3 separate regions of the Homo sapiens genome follow, and regions 1 and 3 are each linked to region 2. The links are contacts of gene promoters, found by promoter capture Hi-C in blood cells and fetal thymus (Javierre and others, 2016). All regions are on one chromosome and are shown on one strand. Each heading gives the region's core, a stretch centred on a gene start or on the middle of the fragment in contact. The rest is flanking DNA. Distances are from core to core; before and after follow the strand shown.

Region 1 (4,732 bases), core at 1,170-3,669, 150 kb before region 2:
CTAAGTGAGGTGAAGAAAGACTGTACGTGGCCCGCCCATCAGTTCACCTCAGGTTTTGCTGCCAGATGAGTTCAAATCCCATGAGGTTTTGCCACCAACTAAGTTATAAAAGAAAAACAAATCAGTTTTTGGAGCTTTTTGTATTTTGGGGTTGGTGGATAAGAGATTGTAGATTTATAATTATCCCGCTTTTTTTGCAATTATTATGAACAACATTTATTAATACATCAATTCAAGAAATATTTTTGAAGGCCTGTGTATCATGTAGTGTTCTGAATGTCTGGAAGTGTATTAAACATGAAAATAATTCATATTTTCTTTAATTTTTTCATTTTAAATGACAAAATTGTACATATTTATGGTGTTCAACACAATGTTTTGGTATATTTAGCCATTGTTCCTGATACTCACATTTGCTTTTCATAATTAAGGAGATTTATCTGCCTATGATAAAGCATTTGTTGTATTGAATGTGGAGAAAATATTGCACATAAAACCAATAGTATATTTTGAATAATTTCTGCTCCAAATAATGATTTGTAATACTGTTTTTACAGTAGTGCCAGATACTGAGGCGAAAACTTTACATGAATAATTCCATTAAATTCTAAAAGATGAGATAGATACAAACTCAACACCAAAAAAAATCCAATTAAAAATGGGTAAATTGCTTAATAGATATACATCCTTCAACATGGATGAGTTTGGAGGACATTATATTAAGTGAAATAAGGCAGGCGACAGAGAGACAAATGCCACATGTTATCACTCATACATGAGAGCTAAAAAAGTTGAACTCTTAGAAACATAGAGTTAGAATAGTGGTTATTAGAGGCCGGGTAGGGTCGTGGGAAGCAGGATTAGGGAAAGGTTAGTTAATGGATACAAAATTAGAGCTAGATAGGAGGATAGTTCCAGTGTTCTATGGCACTGTAGAGTGACTATAATTAATAATTTATTATATATTTTCAAATAGCTAGAAGGGAAGATTTTGAATTTCCATATGCTAATTACCCTGATTTCATAATTCACATTATATACACATATCAAAATAGTAGACTGTACCTCATAAATATGTATAATTAAGTGTCAATTAAAAATAATAGTAAAAGCCAAAATATGAGGCAGATACAAATATTATTTCCATTTTACAAATCAAAAAACAGAAGCTGAACAGCAATTTGAAGAGGCCTCTGGAGCTTCACATGGAGGGAGTCAGGCATGCTTGGGAGTTACCCTCCAATTCCAACCTGATGCCCAGGGTGGCAAACAACCAGTGACTGTCAAGTGTAGGAGTGTGAAAGCTCAGGTCCCTTGCATCAGATGAGGACATCTGATATATAACTGAGATATAACTGACCCTCCAGAGTTGCTCCCTGGATCAGGCTAAAGCCCGCCCTCTGTAGAACATGGTCTGAGATCATATCCTGCCTCAGTTTCCTCCTCTTCCCACTCCTACTTCCCCTCTCTCACGCCTTTACAGATCTTTCCCTAACACTTCCCTTAACAAATCACTTGCATGCAAATTCTTGCTCTGGCTTTGCTTCTGGGGAACTCACTCAGAACAGCCCTGCTGAGCCCTGGAAATTCCTGACCCTCCAAAACCTTGGGACATAATAAAATGATTGTTGTTTAAGCCTCGTTTTGGGGTGATTTGTTCTGTAGCAATAGGTAGACAGAACTCCCTGCAACACCACCATAAGTGTATGCAGCAGGGATCCCTCCAGTCCTTACTCAAAGGACTCCAGGGCTCAATTCATCCTGACCAGATTGACATATTCCACAAAGGAGCTTTCCCTTCTTCTGCAGGTCCCCAGCCAACACTGCTGTCTGGGGGCCCACAGAGTGTTTCATCTGTTGATATAACATCACCTTGAGACCCATTCTATGGTGAATGAAGTGTGGCAAAGAGTCCATGATGAGGAAAGTTGCTGTTCCTACCACAAACCACCACTTTCAGACGATTCTAGCCTGATGGAGCATGGAACGGTCTGTTGAAGGCAAACCCAAGACTGGGGTACTGTCCTTCAGGATGTGGTAAGCAGCATGAAGCAGCAGCTATTACATATGGTGCTGCTTTGTTTTTAAAAATTGCAGATTTGCTTGTGAAAGGCTTAATTAATAGTCATGGTGGCTGGGAGCGGTGGCTCACACCTGTAATCCCAGCACTTGGGGAGAAAGCCAAGGTGGGTGGATCACTTGAGGTCAGGAGCTCAAGACCAGCCTGGCCAACATGGTGAAACCCCAACTTTACTAAAAAAAAAACAACAACAAAAAACAAAAACTTATCCAGGCATGGTGGCGGACGCCTGTAGTTCCAGCTACTTGGGAGGCTGAGGCAGGAGAATTGCTTGAACCTGGGAGGCGGAGGTTGCAGTGAGCGGAGATCATGCCACTGCATGCTAGCCTGGGCAATAGAGTGAGACTCCGTCTCAAAATAAATAAATAAATAAATAAATAAAAATAAAATTTGTGTGGATTGTTTTCAGTCTTTTGCTCTTATAGATAACCAAAGTTCAGGCTACTTTTCATTCAATTTATAGAGACTCTAGAGTCTAAGTACAAATGGGAATCCAATGGGAGCGATCTACAGGCTCAGGAACCAGAGGCAGGAATAGGAGTGACCTTGCTCACCATGACTCCCAGTGACCTGCTTGTCCCTTTGAATACGTTTTTATGGTTTATCCCCCTGGCTTTGGTGTACTTTCAGCAGCCAGCAGCTAAGGCTCTTTGTGGGAAATCTGTCCTTGGACTACTAGAGCCCTTTTTCCCACACATGCAGAAGGCTGAAAGTGACTGAGAGTTTGTGTTCTTCTTTCTCTGCCAGGGCTGCCTGGTGCAGTGTGGGAATATGAAACCCAGCTCCCTTGCTGAAGATGGGACAACACCAAGGCTGAACTCACACTTGAATTCACCCACAGGATGGGGCTGAGCCTGAGATCTCATCCTTCATGGCTTCCTCTCCTTCCTTCTGTTTCAGAGGAATCTGACCTAACTCACTTGTTTAGAGTTACAAACAAAATAAATGGTGAGGTCAGGACCTAGGATTGCTGTATTGAGCAAATAAAAATACAGGACTCTTGCATTTTATCTAGCAATAAAAATAAAATAAAAAATACAGGATGTCCTGCATCTTATGTCTGGCAACCTTAGTCAGGATACTAATCCAAGTCTGTCTAATTCCAATACCCATGCTGGTTTTTAAAAAAAATTAATAAATCATTTTGAGTCTGTAAATAACTTCAGTGTCACATTACAAAATACAAAAATACAGTAGTAAAATTGTCAGCCTTCCTACTACCCCTGTCCCCAGCCACTCGTCTCCTTTTTAGAGGCAATCATGGTAACCTTTTTCTTATTTATCTTTCTAGCAATATTCTCTGTAAATCCAGGCATAATTATATATGCATCTCTGTACCTTGCTTTATTAATTTAACAACTCCTCTAAGGTAGGTCCTTATCAGACATATGGTGCTGTTTTGTTTTAGAAAATTGCAAATATACTTGGGAAAGGCTTAATTAATAGTCTTGTGGATTGTTTTCAGTCTTTTGCTCTTATAGATAACCAAAGTTCAGGCTATGTTGTTTTATTCAATTTAAAGAGACTCTAAAGTCTAAGTACAAATGGAGATCAAGAATTGAGCTGCTAAGTGCTGCTAACAGCATTGAGGAGAGATGTAGGTTACTTGATGATAAGGCAGCCGCAAGAGTTCAATGGATGCTATCTGATGTCTGAAATTATTCTGCCCCTCATGAGTACTTATACAGGAATTATTTGAGTAGATATGAATACATGTTTATACCTAATCCTTTAGTCTCTTCCTGTAGGAAACTAATAACCATTTACTGATAAAAATATCACTCACAGCCAGGCGCGGTGACTTACGCCTGTAATCCTAGCACTGTGGGAGGCTGAGGTGGGCAGATTACCTGAGGTCAGAGTTCAAGACCAGGTTGGCCAACATGGTGAAACTCCACCTCTACTAAAAATACAAAAAATTAGCCAGGTGCTGTGGTGCATGCCTGTAATCCCAGCTACTCTGGAGGCTGAGGAAGGAGAATCTCTTGAACCCAGGAGGTAGAGGTTGCGGTGAGCCGAGATCACACCACTGCACTCCAGCCTGGGCTGCAGAGCGAGGCTTCATCTCAAAAAAAAAAAAAAAAGAAAGAAGTAAAAAAAAATATGTCACTCACTATAGGGGTGGGAATTCATCTACCTAATTTCATCTGGGAGTCAGTGCATTTTCTAAAAGTAAGTGCTCAACAGTGGAGTACCTGCTGCCAAAATCCTCAAAGATAAGAATGTGTTTTAAAAGGGCTGGCTCTGTGATAAGCAGAAGGGCCTATCCATCAGTAATACTTCTTGCTGGAAAAGCAGCCTCAGAGAAAGTGGAACCGATATAAGGCAAGTTCCTGGAATATTGTTTTGCTAATAATATCTCCAGAAGGGGAGATTCATTACAGAGACAACACAGGGCCCAGTTTGTTCAGGGTCATGATGCATGACTGGTTTGGTGGTTATAGGAGGTTGACAAGAGCAAGTAGTCCAGCACAGAGTCAGGCAGAGGCAGTTTAGTTTCTTACTGGCTGAGAAGATGGTGGGGGAGATGCAGGGATGGGTTTGGTATGCATAAAAGTATTGTTCTGGACTGATATTTATTTGAGGCAACTCTCATTAGGTTAGACATGCTCCCTGCCCTCAGTAAGTTTACAATGCATTAGACTGACATGG
Region 2 (4,759 bases), core at 1,237-3,736:
GCCAAATTTCCCAGTTTTCTGGTGGCTAACCCCACACCTGAAAATTAAGATAGTGTTAGAATTATGTTGACCAAGAGAGCATAGCCAAAGAGACTGTGGTGGCCACATCCTACGCTCAGTGGTGCCCCAGGTGAGTTGATGGCAGGTAATATCACTTACTACTAAGCATCTCCTCCCATGTTTCACTCCTAATGGAAATACATGCCCAGGACTCAAACATTTTAGGTTTTGTTGTTGCAAAAGTAAAGTCTGCAGATTTTCTTTTTTTTTTTTCTTTTTCTTTTCTTTTTGAGACGGAGTCTCGCTCTGTCGTCCTGGTTGGAGTGCAATGGAGCAATCTCGGCTCACTGCAAGCTCCGCCTCCCAGGTTCACTCCATTCTCCTGCCTCAGCCTCCCGAGTAGCTGGGACTACAGGGGCCGCCACCACGCCTGGCTAATTTTTTGTATTTTTAGTAGAGACGGGGTTTCACCGTGTTAGCCAGGATGGTCTCGATCTCCTGACCTCGTGATCTGCCCTCCTCGGCCTTCCAAAGTGCTGGGATTACAGGCGTGAGCCACCGCGCCCGGCCAATGTCTGCAGATTTTCAAGAGTAAAAGTTTCCAGCTGAAATAGCTACTGCAAGTCATCCATTTTTATCACATCCAATCCTATTCCCCATTGAAAATTACTAATTATAGATTTGCATAAATCATTCTAGAGATTTTAGTTTGTATGTACAAATACTATAGATATATTTTAAAGATGAGACTATAGCATATACGTATTGTTCTATGATATTTTCCCTCAATACCATATTATGGATATAGAGAAGTATTCCCCTCATATTTTTGATAGAATTTCACTTCTGAAATTTTGTGGCTTCTATATCTAGCTGGTAGGAAAAAAACTATCCATCTAACTTTGAGATCTATACTATTATAAATGATCATAGAGAAATAAAATATTTTTTAAAAAACTCTTCTACATTTCAAAAATGAAACAAAATTAGACTCTTAAGTTTATTACCATTATTACCAAGACTATAAAATATATGGAAAAGGGAAAATGTAAAATAAAAAATATATGAAAGAAAAACTAATTTTCCAGGAAGTCTCAATGGTTGAATAACTTTTTCCAGTTAAAAAGATCTCAAACTTTTACATACTGAATAAGAAGTTAAGAGTTACAGCCAATAAACTATAAACTATATTCTTTCTTCAAATTCTGATTAATCTTTTGTTATTTTATACAGTTTAGGACAATGTTTCTCAAGTTAAATCATAATCTCTGGGTCAGAGCCTGAGAATTTATATTTACCAAATCCCAAGGTGTTATTTTGCATGCTAAACTGGAAAACAGTGGAATTAGAAAATCCTTCACTGAGACTTTCTTTTATTTGGCTTCTTCCTCAGCTGTAAAGTGAAGTCTTTAAATCTAACCGATCTCACAGTATGAATTGATCCCCATAAGTTCTCTTACTGTTCCAGGCAACAATGACATGACTTTGCTCATTTTATCTAAAATAGAACATTTTATACAGGCTTTCTGAACAGTTAAGTAAAGCTGTAGGCACTTTGACAAGCACAGCAAACTCGGGTCACTGGCATCACTCTTTATTGTATTTATATAGTTCTGAAAATTCCCAAAGACTCTTCATATCTATTGTGTTTATATCGATGGGACATACTCTAGAAATAGTATAAAATAAAGTTGTTGTAACTAATGACTCGGTTTTCCATCTTCACTCACTGCTCCAACTCCAGAAACGTCTGATGTTAGCGAAATTGAGTTTGAATTCACTGCCATAACTCCAGTTCTTTTTCTCTCAGTAACTTCCCTAGACTATGAACACAGTATTTTAGGAAGTATTTTTGTTTTTCAAACTCTCTGTATCTACATGATTGTGTAATAAAGGACAACCTAGAGGTAGAGAGAAAAAACTGTTAGTTTAGCTAAAACTTAAATTTTTAAATTGAGATTTTCTAGGATTTGCAATATATTCAATTCCTTATTTTATGAACACTTCAGTTGCTATGAACGTAGCTCTCAGAAAAGCCAGAAAATGGGTTGACCATGCTTTTAAGCTTTCTCTCCTCTGGACCTGCAACCAAAATTCTCTTGGTATGAAATTGCCCTTGAAATCAGTGGGCATTCCATGCATTTAAGCAGCTCTCTCATTTAAGTTAATTCTATTAAAAATTACCACAAATAAAATTCAAATAAATTATCTGAATGACACAACAAAAGATTAATCCTAAAAGAGGATTGTACTGCAGCCTTGCAAAACTCCCCAGTATCCTGTTAAAAGTAGTAGATGAAAATGTCATGTAGCTTTCTTAAAAAGGAGCTTTTCAGCAGAACAACAAAAAGCATTTCTTACCCAGAGCTTTCATGTAATCGTCAAAGTTCTCACTAGAGACAAGTTTCCAGGTGCCCAGGAATTTGTTGCTCATCGTGATGGGTGAGAGCTCAACACAGTTCTAAGTGGGATTCAGAAGACTCAGATAAAATGCTGAGGCCTCAGAAGATTCTTTTCAAGGATGCCCAAAGCGTGTGACTCTTACAGAGACCCAATGGGGAAAGGCAGTGTCGGGACTAAGCAATGAATGGCTCTTCAATGGCCAGCTGCCCGCCCAATAGGATAAAAGAAAACCCCACATAATACTTCCCTTTGTCTCCAAAAAAATTTATAAAATGAATGAGATTACTATTTGAATCTTCAAAAATTTTTTGATCAATCTTACATTTATAAGAAGGCTTAGGCCCTTCATGCTTTGGAAAAGACTGCATGAATTCTGTGATCATGAATGAATGTGTGTGTGTTTAGGCATGTCGGTCACTCTCAATCCTGAGTCTGCACAATTAAGAATTCTTATTGAAAGGGAAGAAAAAGAGGAAAATGTCTGTAAGTATTATGATAACAGTCTCAAATATGTTGTGGGAGAGAAACGTAGGGGAGCAGTGTGAGGAAGTATTCATAGGTAAGAAGGCTTGGCATAGTTCACATATCCCAGGCAGGCAGAGTAGGCAGACAAAGAAGTCAGTCTATTGCAGCAGAGCACAGAAATTGTATTCATGTGATGAAACAAGAAGTAGCACTATAACATGTTCTTTGAGCACAACAAAGATTTTCAGCTAGAAATACTTAAAGTCTGAACTAAGCAGGTTCCTGGATACTATAACTATTTGTGTTTAAGTCATTTAAAATGAATCTACAATTTTATAAAGAGGATTTTCTATAGAAAGAGTACTAATTTATATTGACAACTCACTATGGGCCAGACACTGTGCTAAGTGCTTAATACGGGTGATCTCATTTAATTATATCACTAATTCCAAGAGTTAGGAACTATTATTATATCCATTTTACCAATGATAAAAATGAGCTTGGGGACATTAGGTAAATTGCTCCCAAAAGTTGAATAAGGAGAGGACAGGTTTGAACCCAGCATTGCTGCCAGTGCCCGGGTTCTGAACCATGATCTTACCCTGCTTCTATTATACTATACCATACATGCTACGTGCACGGAGGCCCTGGCCAGAGATCACCTGATGCTGATAGCACCACGATTAGCTAGAAACACTCTCTCTCTTCTCAAAAATCAAGAGAGGTAAAAAATCAAAAGATCCAGCCTACTATATTACATCAAAGCCCCAGTCTTTGGCCAAGGGGAACAAACGTAAATCCACTTAGAACATAAGTGTTGCTCTTGAGAATCTCTGATTACTGCTATATCTTTCCTAGCAGGTTTTTTGTTTGTTTGTTTTTGTTGTTGTTTGTTTGTTGTTTGTTTTTACCTTAGCATTAATTCTGGCTGGAGACAACTGATATTACCAAGTTTTATACATTTAGTAAACAGGTTGGCACTGTTTACAACAACAAAAATATGATGAATTTGCTCATAACAGGTAGAATTACTAGCAAGAAGGGCTCAAGAAACCCAGTCGCATAGCTGTGACATAACTATTGCAGTTACATAGTTAGAGTTCAAGCTGAGTAAAACACGTGAAATCATATACAGTGGGCTGAAGTTTCATTTACAATCCCAGTGCCTGAATAGCTCAAGGTGGGAAAGAAATGGTGAATAGGAAAATTCCTCAGCTAACCAACTAACCCAATCCTAAACCCAAGAGAATGTAACTGGAGGGAGTACATTGTACTGGGATAGAAAAAACAACTGTGAAAGAAAAAGCTTTTGATTAGTGGATATGTTATTTTATTTTCCAAAACACTTTACAGAAATGATGATATCACTTGTACCTTCAAAACTTTTTTTTTTTTGTTAGCTGTACACTATTAAGGAGTACAGCATTCAACATTTAGGTTTTCTGCCTAAATAAATGAAGGACTCCCAAACCCTCACACTAGAGCTGAGACCTTGTATTCAGTGGGACTGCTACAAGAAAGCTGTGTGAATTTTAAGCTGACTCTGTGTTGCACATAGGAACAGCAGTGGAGTTTAAAACATAAACATTGAGCCATATATTTCCAAGAGAGAAAACTTATAACTTTGAAGCAATATTAGACCAAGAGAAAAATTTTCTACTTAAGGCTTATCAGCAATTGTACCTGACTGCTATTAATAGAACTGACCAGACAAGTTTGGACCGTGATGGGATTCTGAGGCCAATATATGGGCCAAAGGCACAGATCAAAGCAATGAGGGAAGACCCGGACTGAACTAGGCCTGAAACATTACATCACTCCTAGCTAAGAAAGTCATCAATGTCCTAACAAGAAAGAATGCATAGAACCACATTATAACTAGATGTATATA
Region 3 (4,648 bases), core at 257-2,756, 170 kb before region 2:
TTTGGCACATTAATTTTAAACAAGATATATTTATTTGGTACACTCACCTGGTTTCTGTTAAAGACTCGCTTAATATTATAAAGATAAAACAATGGCCTTGACCAATGCCATGGAGTTTTCCCTCTATGTTTTCTCCTAGTAGTTTTATGTTTTCTCCTAGTAGTTTCATGTTTTACATTTAAGTATTTAATCCATTTTTAGATGATTTTTGTATATGGTAAGAGATAAGGGCCTAATTTCATTCTTCTACATGTTGATCTCCAGTTTTCTCAATACCATTTATTAAAGAGACTGTTCTTTCCTCATTGTGTGTTCTTGGCACCTTTGTAAAAAAAAAAAAAAAAAAATTAAGTTGACTGCAGATGTGGTTTTCCCTGGGCTATTCTATCCCATTGGTTGATGCGTTTCTTTTTGTGCCAGCACCATGCTTTTTCAATTACTATAGCTTTGTAGTACATTTTTGAAATCAGGTAGTGTGATGCCTCCAGCCTTTGCTATTTGTTTTTCTTGGCTAATTGGGGTCCTTTGTGGTTCTATATGAATTTTAGAATTGTTTTCTCCATTTCTGTGAAGAATGACCTTGGAATTTTGGTAGGAATTGCATTGAATCTACAGATCACTTTGGGTGGTATGGACATTTTCACAATATTAGTTCCTCCAGTGCAAGAATACAGGATATCTTTCCATTTATTTGTGCCATTTTAAATTTCTTTTATCAATGTTTTACAGTTTTCAGCATATAGATTTTTTATCTCCTTGGTTAAATTTACTCCTAAGTATTTTATTTTTATACCTACATCATAACATCACATTTTACCCCATAAATATATACAATTATTATTTGTCAATAAAAAAATTAAAAGAATAAAATAAAAACATGATTGTGTAAATGGAAAACAACAAATGTAGACTTTAAATTAACCAGTGATGATCTAAAAACCTTTCATTTATTTCTTAAATAAAATAATGTGGTTTCTTAAGAAAAAAGGCATAATGAATTATGGGGAACCTGAGGGCTTCTGTTTACCTGATATTTCAAAGACCTTCAATTTTTTAAAATTTTCAATATGTGATGAACTAAAACAGAATCAATTTTTAATAAATGTTTGTGAAATTTAAAAAACCCACAATGGATGTAGTTTTTAGCTTGTATAGACTTAGATACCAGACTTCTTGAAGATAAGAACTAGATTCTATCCACATAATTACTAGGTGTTCTAAAAATATGGGGTGATTTGAGACAAAGGAATGTGTCTGGTATGGACATCTCTGCTGGCCATTCTTTTGTGAGCAAGCAAAGCTGTCCCTGCATGACATATTTGTATGATACCTGAGTAGGGTAATACTGAACATGGCGCTACCACATTTTTTCCCTCCTGCAAGGCACCTTCAGGTCTTACAATAGATGATGCTGTAGTACCATGTTAATGCCTTCCTTGAAATTTAGACTTTGGAGCTACCTGATAGGTGAGAATTAAATATAACAACTCTTCATCCTATTTGAAATAGTTGGAAGGAAGGAGGGCATTGCTCAAAATCATACCAGGACAACAAGCATAGCTCTGACTTGCCCCAGTCAAACCAGGATATGGTCATCCTATCTTGCACTCTGAAAAAAATCGTGTGTTCAGATAACCTACCAGGGCAGAAAGGCCATTAGGAGCTCCATCTCTGCTCTGATGGTGAAACTAGAATTAATGCTATCTGATGTGCTGGGCAGGGAGAAGGAGGTAAGGATGCAGGGCACATGATTATTTTTGTGTTATTTTAGGATTTGACCATCAGCTTAGGTCTTGTTCCTTCTTCCTGATGGCTAAACTCTGTCTACCATTCTCTTGCCAGGATCCAAATCCAGATCAGAAGAACCCATCAGAATCATGACAGTACCATCCCCTGGAATTCAAGCCTGACCTCCACAGCTCTAGCTGCCGTGTCCCACCCACAGAGCAGATCCTCTAGGTATTTTGTTGTCTTCAGATCCAGGTACATACACTTTAGGCCCAGCGTGTGGCAGTTATGAAATAAAGCAAATGTTTCAAAGACAAGTCAGACTTATTCCTCATTCAGATGGGTAAAACTATATTGAGTGTGAAGAAGAAAGGGCAGGGTAGGAAGAAAACCAGAGGAGAATTAAGAAGTGATTTCAATTTTTGAAGTCAATTTTATTGATTTCTTGACTGACTCAATAAAGGAGTGAAGTTGAATTGGTTGATATCTAAATAAAAATATCCATTCTAGGACAACAGATGTGTGTAGCTCAGGTGAGCTTTTAATCCAAAGTAAGAAGTAGGGATTTCAGACCCACATTCAGAATCCTGAGGCCATGGTAGTTTTGAGATCTCCTCTTTGTAGCCCTGAGTGTTGACAAGCCCAGCTTGGTGTTCAATATTTGGCAACTCAGTAGGATGTCTGAGACCCTGCAGAATTAACTATGTATTTCAAGGTTGTAAGATAGGAGACAAGATTTGAGATTTGTGGCACAAATATTTTTTATCCCACCTTCCAAAATAGGCTGGAAGTAAGATCACAGTTGCTCTTCTTAATGGTAACAACTACTTAGCCTCCCAGTTCCCGCATGAAATTACAATATTTAACCAATGTAGAAAACAGAATATACTTTACTGGAAACTTCCCCTACATACTGTTGAATCTGTATCTTTAAGTTTGGTCAATGCAGAAGTGAGCAGGTGAACAAAAAGTGTCCTGTGGTGTCTATGGGTGGGTGAACAAAAGGTACCCATCCTGCTGCTTGGGTCCTTCAGAGAAGTGCACAAAATCAGCTGCATGCTGGTTTTACAGCTCTGTGCATGACTCTGAGGAGTTATAGGGTAGCTCTTCCCACTGCCAAAGTAGGAGGACCAGAGATAGGATCAAGAAAGCATCTTCAGTCGGATTTAGGTAGGTTATTAAGTGCTGATGATTCTTCTTCAAAGCTAATCCAGAAAAATGGAAGCAGTGGGCCTGACTCACTGAGATAAATAGCTTAGAGGCAAGCAAATCCACGGTTTTGTAGATTTGACTTGAAAAAAATCATTAATTCTTATAGATAAATATCAAAATAGAGAAATGATCAAATGGTGTGAGAATCTAGGAATACTGCATGGGAGGTAGGAATGAAAAATAGAAAAGGGTAATCTACAAGAAAAGAATTTGGCCTCTTCCAGTGGGAACATATCATTTGGAGGTTTTTTATGTTTGAAATTTTTTAAGGACAGAGATGCTCATTATTAATGTGTCTGTGTGTTTGGGCTTGGCCAGCCTAAGATTTTGTATATAAGGAGGCTTAGGAGTAATAATGTGATTAGAAGCGGGCTTGAAGAGGTTGGGGTTGCTAAGGAATTTGTTTTGAAGTTGCATTGCCTGGTAAACATAGTGCTTTTACTAAGATTTTGTGTTTATTGGGGTGGCTTTGCTAGCATCCTCCCGCTCCATTTCAAGCTGTGCCCTTTGGAGTTGTGCTTTTAAACCTTTGAACACTGCTCATATGAGGTATAAAAGGGTTATCCCAAACTATGTGTATCTGTTGCCATGAGCTATTGACAAATGTAATATACAATAATACACATGTCTGGAAAGTAGGAAGATCTATATAAGTAAGGGAAATGTATGAATTTTATACTGAAAGCTTTTATTATAAAATGAGCCATTATGTCCTCTGCCTTATTTTGAAGCCATTCACTTTTTATTACTGTAACTTTTGCAATGCCTCATTTTCCCTCCAGCTATCCTCTAGTCCAGTTAACTCAGCAAGCACAAGTTTATGATGGATCATTTAAGGAGCTGGAAAATTTTAATGGTTAGCCGTGGCAGTTATGATGTGTAAGACTCTAACTGCTTTAAGTAAAAGGACAAAGTTCAAAATATAACTCCATCTTTATAAGTGCTTTAATTAAAACCAATCTTATTATGAAAAACAAACCAAAAAAACCTTGCATTGATGGATGGTAGCTATTTGCAATTTCTTGTTTTGGCTGGATGCATTGAAGGATTAAAAATTTAATATTTAAGGTGTGCCTTAAACTGCAAGGTTCCCTGATTTTATTCTCATCTAGGAATTTTTGCTGCTTTAGGTAGCTGACAACATGCAGATCCATACTCTATCTCTTAAGATTTTCTTTTGGAACTGATTCCAGGTGAAATTTTCTTAGGGAAGATGTGGCTAGAAGCTGGGTATGCAAAGCATGTCTATAGCAAGGAAAGCCAGATGAGTGAGGGTCAAAAATCTAGTTATAAAATTTAAGGGAGACACTAGGTTTAAATAAACATATTCTCCAACCTTAGTGATTAATTTTTTTCCTTTTTTGATCATCTGGCCATGTACTTAGAGAAGACTCAGTTCCCTGAAAATGGATTACTTTGAATATTCTCTGCAATAATTTAATGTAGTACTCTCCATTTCTCTACCAACTGCCTGTTGCTAAGCCACCAACACTTAACTGTCCTTAGGAAGAACTAATATACAATAATCAACTTTGTGGAAGGCACATCTATGTACATAAACTTTAACTGGGAAGTTGTCTTTAAATAAAAATGACACAATATGCTCCAAAGCTGTGTGTGATTACAGAATGAGAAGCTGAAAAACTACTCACGTTTATCAAGTAAAGCCTCAGAGAAATATTACGGTTTCACCACTAGGTGGAAATAG

The links. The method cuts DNA at HindIII sites, captures the fragments that hold promoters and counts their contacts. A CHiCAGO score of 5 or more calls a contact.
Region 1: a contact is called between a fragment that was not itself captured here and the fragment with the promoter of PMP2 in region 2, in 2 of 17 cell types (M0 macrophages and M1 macrophages). The highest score is 5.7, in M0 macrophages.
Region 3: a fragment that was not itself captured here is called in contact with the fragment with the promoter of PMP2 in region 2 in 1 of 17 cell types (M2 macrophages); the score reaches 6.4 in M2 macrophages.

Annotation. Positions count from the first base shown.
Region 1 is chr8:81,292,818-81,297,549 of GRCh38, forward strand. No RefSeq gene overlaps it. Among named protein-coding and RNA genes, the nearest start is that of LNMICC, 14 kb to the left of the region's middle. The HindIII fragment of the contact is 9,479 bases long and covers 1-4,732 here.
Region 2 is chr8:81,444,953-81,449,711 of GRCh38, forward strand. PMP2 (peripheral myelin protein 2) reads right to left here and starts at 2,487. Exons shown (of 4, transcript NM_002677.5): 1 at 2,362-2,487; 2 at 1-37. The coding sequence starts at 2,434. The HindIII fragment of the contact is 2,109 bases long and covers 2,064-4,172 here.
Region 3 is chr8:81,273,261-81,277,908 of GRCh38, forward strand. It overlaps LNMICC (lncRNA associated with lymph node metastasis in cervical cancer), which reads right to left. Exons shown (of 2, transcript NR_186603.1): 2 at 2,139-4,648. Among named protein-coding and RNA genes, the nearest start is that of FABP5, 5.0 kb to the right of the region's middle. The HindIII fragment of the contact is 4,234 bases long and covers 1-3,623 here.